Regions from separate parts of the Homo sapiens genome. Here region 1 is linked to region 2. The links are contacts of gene promoters, found by promoter capture Hi-C in human tissues and cell types (Jung and others, 2019). All regions are on one chromosome and are shown on one strand. The core of a region is centred on a gene start or on the middle of the fragment in contact, and the rest is flanking DNA. Distances in the headings are between cores, read along the strand shown. Region 1 overlaps CAND1.11 (a long non-coding RNA gene). Region 2 holds the start of EIF4G2 (eukaryotic translation initiation factor 4 gamma 2).

Region 1 (3,964 bases), core at 622-3,121, 480 kb before region 2:
TTGTGCTTCATTTGAGTAGCATGAGAGCACCCCATTCCTCACATCTGTTCATTCTTCTCCCCTTAGAAATCTTGTCTCAGCTGAAAGGTCAGAGCTAGAAGCCCCAATCTGCTTCTAGCTCTGACCTTCTGGCTTTGTCAGGAATCCCTATGAATTTGTGCTGTTGATTTTCTTTGAACTAAATACAGAAATGTGTCTGCACTCTGGGATAGAGAAGAGAGTATAGTAATTGCCAGGAGAACTGAAGATGACCTTAAGGCAGGCCAGGTGACTGGTAAACCATACCCTTCACAAGGCTACCAGAGCTCTAGCCTGACCAATATTATTTTGAAAGGGAATACATTAGAATCCCTGGTGACTAGATGAACATGGCCATCACTATTTCTACAAACCTGTCTTCTGATGAACATATACTCCTGCTGGATGGTGTCAAGACATGCTTGTTTCTTGAGTGGTTTAGATACCAGTTATTGCCCCTCCTGTTATGCCTGGTAACTAGGATGCTGTCAAGAAAATACAGCAGGACTTCATTGAGCTTAAAAAGAGCGTTTCAAAAATATTGCATTAGCCTTTTGTCCTTTCAGTCTGTTTTTCATAGAACAAATGTAATCTTAGTCGCTACAAATTTGTTTAAAATAGCTCTTCTGGTGAGTCACCTAAAGTTAACTGCAGATATGGTATTGTTTTAGCCATGTCAAGCTTGAAATGTTATCCAAGTCCTAGGAACTACTCACTATGGGAAGCTGATGATGTATGTGCCCTCACACGTGTTTTGAGGGTGATCCTATAATGTCCGGAGAGAAAGAAATGCCTGAGATGAACTGGTCAGCATTACATTTCTCAGAACGGGCTGCAAGAGCTTCAGAAGCAAAAGGAGTGTTCTCTGTAGGCTCAGATGCTCACATGACCCAAGACACGTGAAGGGTCTGCCCATCATTCACCCCTCTATCCCCACAAGTGGTCAGAAAGTTAGGAAAATCTCCAAGAGACCATGCAGAAGGGTCAAAGGATCTTGCAGATGTTCTGAGCAAAAAAATGAAAACTTTAAACAGAACATTGTGCCATGACTTGAAAAGGTCATTATCTAGTTCACACTTACATCAGACTATAAATATTGTCAGAAAAATGGATATGTTTGCCAGGACCATGAACAGTAAAATTGCTTAAAATAGGCCACAGAAACCCTCAAGGCCAGTGGGGCCATGGCAGGCCATGACACTCAAACCTGATGCTGCCTTGTGAGAGACCTCAGCAGGAACAAAAGCCAACAGCTGCTTATTGGAAAATTTATACTCAGTGGCCCTCAAAAATTGCAAAAGCCTTTCAAGTCATGTAAGTTAATTTTGTCTCACTCTTCCACCAGGTAGAAGTGAGACAGGGAGACTCATGCTCCTTAAATGAGGTCCCTTGTCAAAGACTAGCTGTCTTATGGCCTTTGAATACTCTGCCCTTCCCCCTTCCTATGGTATAGCTTTGTGTCCAGTTAGCACTGAGCAGAAGCTGCTCTCCTGCTGTCCCCACCCACTGTTGGCTAAAGCCAGGTCACCTCCTGCCAGGCAGCGGCTGGGTGAAAGTCCAGAGAAGCTCTCCTGAATAAACAAGTCAAACAAAGGCAGTTCCCAGCAGTGGATGGGGCTGTACTCCAGAAGTCTATTTGCAAATCTGTCCTTTAGAACTCGGAAGACATTCCCCAGGAGGAGCAATGTTATGCAGTGTGGCAAGGTTCCCAGGCTAGCCCACACCTCTGATTTAACCCAGAATGGGCTGGGGAAACAGTGCTCTAGAACTCATCATTATGGGTAATACCTTTGTAGTCTCTGCTCTTCAGTTTACAAATAGTTGCTGAGCTAGGCATGGTTCCAGGTGATGTGAAGGTTCAAAGCTGCCTCAGCTTTGTGGAGTAGGTAGATTCAGTAGCTCCTGGGTGCACAGTGGCTGAGATTTTCCCAGTCTCATGAAATCCCTGCTTCTCTTTCCTATCTACATGTTTTAGGCTGAAAGTGAAGGGATGACCATTCCGGCTTTTCTTTGGTTTGTTTCTTCAAGATAACCTGGTGTAGGGAAGGGTGAGAGTCCTGGCTCTATCATTACACACAGCAGCATCTCCAAGCTTCAGTTTCTCCTCTGAAAAATAGGATAATATGTAGCTAAGAGAGCCTTGGAGTTGCCTCCCCAGCCCTTGTTCTTCTCTTGGTAACTACCATGACTTTTGTTAGGGTATCCACATCTCCCCCAATAGACCACTCCACTCCTGAAGACTCAGGCCTAGTGCAATTCCATTTTAAGGCCACTATTACAGGACCCAGTGATGGGTGCTGGCCTAATTCAGGCCAGTGAGCTTGCATAAGTTTATTGGCTTATTTCCAGAAAAACAAATTTCCTTTTTCCTGCTAGATAAGAATGGGACACATATGTGGTCTCACTAGCAATTCAGGCCAATGAGTTTGCATAAGTTTACTGGCTTATTTCCAGAAAAACAAGTTCCCTTTCTCCTGCTAGATAAAAGTGGGAGACATATGCAGTCTCAGCAGCAATAGAAAGCCACTCTGAGACTAAAACAGGGGCAAGCCCTAGATGGAAGCTCTCATTGTGAATGGCAGAGTGGAGTGATGGAAAATAGAACTCCCTGATAAAGTTGTTGAACTCCTAAATGGACCCATCCTCAATCCTGTCATACTTCTATTGTATAAACCAATCATCTCCTTCACTTAGTAACCCATAGTGAGTTGAGCTTTCTGCTCCTTTTAATGGAAGCCATCTTAATTAATACATTATAGCACAGGATTTACTATGGGCATTAAATGGGATATAGCATTCACAGTATCTGTCTCATGCTGAAAAAAGAAAAAAAATTCATAGTATTTAGCACAGAATTTATATATGACCCCTGCCCTTCCAGTCCAAGGGCATTAATGGAAAAGACCATAGTTTCTCAGGCCTTTGTTGGATAGGGAAGAAGAGGGCATGTGTGGACTCCAACACGACCTTAACCTGGTTTGAGGCTTGAATATCTTGCCTGGGCTAGAAAGGTGGCCCCTCTGGACTGGCTTTAATTTTAGGATCAGTCCCTTTAGAGGGAGTAGATCTTGTAAGCTGGGGTTTCCCTAGCCCTTGGCAAGTATACATGTTGAAGAGGGTTGGGAGACAAAGAGGGAAGAAAGGAGAGAACCATGACTTGCTGGTGTAATAACAAAAGGTCCTACCTATCTTTGGGATCGAGATTAATCTCTCCTGTCTTTCTTCTTTTTCCTCCTTTCTTCCTTACATTTTTTCGCACTCCCAGTTCTCATTAGGGCTGAAGAAGAAAGGGAAGTCAAAGCTGGGATGGCAAAGGAGTGGAAGTATATGCCAGAGGGAGAAAGGGGAACTTGTGTAAGCTAATTCTGATGACTTTGCATTCAAGTGTAGCACAGATCTCAGTTTTCAGACTAAATGGTAGCTTTAGACTCCTATCGGAGGTTGGCAAGGCTGGTTTCTTGGAGTTTTTGCATGAAGAACAGGAAACTAGGCAGAGCAGCCTGGTTCAAGGACAAAGGGTTATGTTATGACTAATAGGAAGGAGGAATCATTTGGAGTACACACAGTGGCTGTAAGTCAGATTTCGGTCATTTCATTACCCCCAGATTTAGCCTAAGTCACCAGGGAGAGGAGACTGCAATAAAAGAAAAATTAACAAAAAGCTGACATGACTGAAATCTGAAGGAACTTGATTCACATGACATTACTGCTTTGCAGTTGTGCTGTATTACAAGGGTAGAGCTCATTTGTCCTAGTGTTAGCATACTGCACTTGAGAGTATGCTAGAACACAGGATGGAAAAGGAGTGTGAGAAAACATTACTTCACAAAAGTGGGTCAAGGGTGCCATGTTCCAACTGTGAAATGGATGCTTAGAAATGAAAATAGAACTCCAGTGTGGTCTGACCAGAACAGGATTGAGCTGCCACCCTCTTATCGGGACACTA
Region 2 (3,884 bases), core at 229-2,728:
TACAACGTATTTCAGATCCTGGCACTGTCACTGCATTGCAGATCTGTAAGACTAACCTAAAATGTACTCAAAACACTGACAATTACATTTTGTTTAGCCACCTGGAAATTCCCCGGTGTTCAAGGATGCAAAGAGACTTCGTAGAACACAAGAGCATTTTAAACGGCTCAGAACGAATCTTTTGAAAAAGCCACATTCTACTATCTTTAAAACTGAGCACTGAGATCAATAGAAAAGTCTAACTACAGACACGAGCAACATCACGTGGAAAATGTCTGCCCTAGGAATTTTTACTGCCTTGACGAGGCCAGCGACTAGATGAGGTCTCTCCGAAAGCTCTTCAGCAGTTTTCCCCTGTCCACCCTTTCGCCTCCTCCCCGTGGAGAGCTCGTGGAAAGACGCGCGAGAGGGGGCCGGGTGTACAGGACTAGCACTTGCAGGCGGAAGACCAGGGCCACAACATGGCAGCAGGAACCTCCGCCCCGTTTTTCCCTTCCTGGGAACAAAAGAGCGGAGCATTCCTCCCACCCAGGCGCAAGTTAGGGAAGTGCTTCCGACAACCTCCCCGCGAGGCCCGGGTCGCTCGACGGGGAGGAGCAGCTGAGGCCACCCCCGCCAGCCCGGCGCCCAGCTCTTTGTTCTCCAAGCAGGAAGGCGGCCTCCTGCCCACCCGCCGCCTCCAAGCGGGCCCCCTCCTGCACCATAAATCCCCCCGGGACTGACAACCGCCTCGCCACGGCCTCCTCTGCTGACAAAAGGGGCAGAAATCATCACTCTCTCTTTCCTCCCCGACGAAGGGCAGCCCCTGCCGACTCCAGGTCCTACACACCTCCCCGCCGGGAGGCCAGGCTCCGGGACGCCTGCGGTTCCCTGGTCCCGCGCCAACGGCCTGGCCTTCCCTGCCGGCCCGCGTGCCTCCCGCCACGGCGCTAGCGGTCCGAGCCACGCTCCCTCGCCGTCCGAGCACAGCCGTGCCTCGGTCCGCCACGGCCTCGTCCCTGCAGGCGTCGGCCATCCGGCCATGACCGCACGGCGGCCTGGCCAACACTGACGTTTTCCTTCTACTCCGTCAGCAACAGGAAGAGAGAACAAAAGCCAAGACTTTCCAGGTATCTGAAGCGCAGAGGAAATGCTAAAAAAGGGTCGCCCCACCCGGCTCCGCCTGCGGCCGCCATTTTGTACCACTCGAGAAGAAGCGACCAGGGACGGCGGCCATTTTAGAGCGCTCCACTCGGCGGCGGCAGCGGCTCAACTCACCTTCACCGAGAACTCAGCAGCTGCCACCGCAGCTGCCTCCTCAGGATCCGGTCGTCGGGGATAGGGAAGGGAGGGGAAAGGGGAACGGAAAACAAAAAAAAGGGGGAGGGAAGGGGGAGGAAGGAGTCGGGGACGGCCTCAAACTCAGCTCAGAGGAGTCGCTGCTGCAGCCGCCACTCGGTACCCGCTGCCACCTCCATAGAGCTCCGACTCACTGCTGGCGCTAAGGCGTGTCTGAAGCCGAACTTATCACTCTTGGGGCAGCCGAACCCACCAGAGTCTCCCCGAATGGCTCCTTCGCCGCCCAATCAGCGGCCCGGTTGCCGTCTGCCACCAATCCGCGCAGGGCAGCGAGGAGGAGCCACAGGGCTGAGCTCGGTTGCGGCGCAGCCCCGCCGCAGTGCGCAAAGCCATATTCGCGAAGTCTCTGAGGCTGAGCCAGTGGCGTAAGGGGCGCCGAGCGCTGTCGAGATGAGGGTTGCGTGCGTAAAGCCGGAGAGCCCTTTTGAGTCTGCGTTGGCGTGGCTGCTGCTTCTTGCTCCAGTCCCTTTGTTCACTGAGTCCATATGCCATGCTCCAGTTGTATCATCCCCTTTTCCCTCGACCTCGTTTTCTCACCGGGAATATGGGAAGAAAACGCACCCTTACCTCCCCCGAACCCTGTGCGTGGCGAGTGAGCATTGCTTTTCTTGGCGCCCCTTGGAGCTGTGGCTGCCCTCGCGTGCCTGGCCTCTCCCGGGGCTGAGCCCTTCGGGTTGAGGCCTGGAGCCCCCGGGCGCAGCGCCGGGACACTACCCGGCTCCAGGTCCTCGGCTTCGGCAGCCTTAGGGAACCCAGAAAGTAGTGGGGAGGAGGCGAGACGTGCGCCCGGATGCCAAAGGGGAGCTTCATTCAGCTCCTTATTGGCCCACCCCCTGCAGAGTGAATGAGAAAGTGATGAAAGGAAGGGGTTGATTTTCTTCGAACCGCACAGAAGAAGCTGCTTTTCCCATAGGAATGTCCGGCTGGCGGTCACCGAGGAAAACACCCTGTGTGTCAGACTTCCGCGGGTGTTTGGAGGATTTCGAATTGCTAGCTCCTGTTTTTTTTTGTTTTTTGTTTGTTTAAGTGCACGTTAAACATTGTCAGTTGTGTATTTTCATTTTATTTAAGGTTCACCATAAGAAATAGGATTAAGCTTTTCAAAGCCGGCAAGTTGAACTATTTATACTTACCAGGTAATGTATTGATGAGTACCTTATTCCATCGTTTGCGACATTGTAGCTATACTAAAATGGAGTCATACTTCCATAAACTTAAACAACAAAAATGTCCCCATCTCCATTTTAACATGTAGTACTTTTACAGTGTATAGTCAAAGGCAAGAATGTGTGTGTTTTAACATGAATGACTTTTAAAGTGTTCAGTAAGAGGCAGGATTTTCAAAGACCCAAACTTAACCTTTGATGTGTCAAAACAGCTCTTGGTATTAGAGCACCTGGTCCTTAATACAATTTTCCGGAAAATTGCAGTTTTTCCTACGACATTTAAATGTAATAGAAGGCTGTGGTGTGGCTCTGAAGGTTTTTAACACAATTCCAACATCTGTAGATCTTTGCTATAGAATAGTCACCATTCCCTACTTTACTGTTACTACACTTATTGCTATTACATCAATTTTACTTGAACTTTAAAACTTGGAAGAGATATTCTAAAAAAAAAAAAAAACTATTTTGGGGTGGTGGTGGTGGTGCAAGTTTTGTTTTAAATACAAGAGGTTTCACTTTGTATTTCTTTGGACCCTTCTAGCTTCATGATAACACGAGAATAATGTTTCTTTATAATTTCTGTAGGGCTTTAAGGTTTGGAAAAATGCATTAGTATATGTGATATTTTTACATAACTGGTTTACATTCCATTTATCTGATAATGAACGAATACATTAGTTTACTAAGAAGAGTAGTATTCAAAAACTATTGTCTAGACTTCAAAGAGAATATTCACCTAGCCGTAAAAGTCGGATGTTCTTATAATTAAGACACTTAAAATTCAGTAATTAAAAATTTAAAAAAGGTTTTACTTAATATTTTATTTAATCTTTGCTAATTGGGAACCCTTTTGGTATGGGCTTTGCAGATATGAGTTTATGTGAGAAATTGACCTGGAAGGGAATAACCTAAGGTAGAAAAAGTAAAAATATTGATAAAACAATCTTTCAATTACCTTTCTCTCACTTAAATAGAAAGATTTGAAGTTGAAATCGTACCTGCAAAGCCCATTGCAGAAGGGTTCACAATTAGCAAAGATTAAATAAAAACATTAAGTAAAACCTTTAGAAAAAAAAATTTTTTTTTGAGACAGAGTCTCACTTTGTCACTCAGGCTGGAGTGTAGTGGTGTGATCTCTGCACACTGCAGCCTCCACCTCCTGGGTTCAAGCAGTTCTCGTGCCTCAGCCTCCTGAGTAGCTGGGATTACAAGCATGTGCCACCACGCCCAGCTAATTTTTGTATTTCTACTTGAGATGGGGTTTCACCATGTTGCCCAGACTGGTCTCAAACTCCTGACCTCAAGTGATCCACCCGTCTGGGCCTCCCAAAATACTGGGATTACAGGTGTGAGCCACTGTGCCCAGTGTAAAAAATTTTT

Evidence for each region. Contacts are between HindIII fragments. The study calls those that stand out against the background at their distance.
Region 1: a contact is called between a fragment that was not itself captured here and the fragment with the promoter of EIF4G2 in region 2, in 1 of the 25 tissues and cell types used here (bladder).

Annotation. Positions count from the first base shown.
Region 1 is chr11:10,325,036-10,328,999 of GRCh38, forward strand. The region is part of intron 1 of CAND1.11 (a long non-coding RNA gene); the gene reads left to right. Among named protein-coding and RNA genes, the nearest start is that of CAND1.11, 19 kb to the left of the region's middle. RefSeq lists a silencer at 3,687-3,964. The HindIII fragment of the contact is 5,263 bases long and covers 1-3,964 here.
Region 2 is chr11:10,807,448-10,811,331 of GRCh38, forward strand. EIF4G2 (eukaryotic translation initiation factor 4 gamma 2) reads right to left here and starts at 1,479. Exons shown (of 22, transcript NM_001418.4): 1 at 1,258-1,479. It overlaps LOC101928053 (a long non-coding RNA gene), which reads left to right and starts at 1,850. Exons shown (of 3, transcript NR_120540.1): 1 at 1,850-1,919; 2 at 2,410-2,474. RefSeq lists enhancers at 252-331, 1,062-1,321, 1,832-1,881, 1,957-2,563 and a silencer at 1,602-1,651. The HindIII fragment of the contact is 7,870 bases long and covers 1-3,884 here.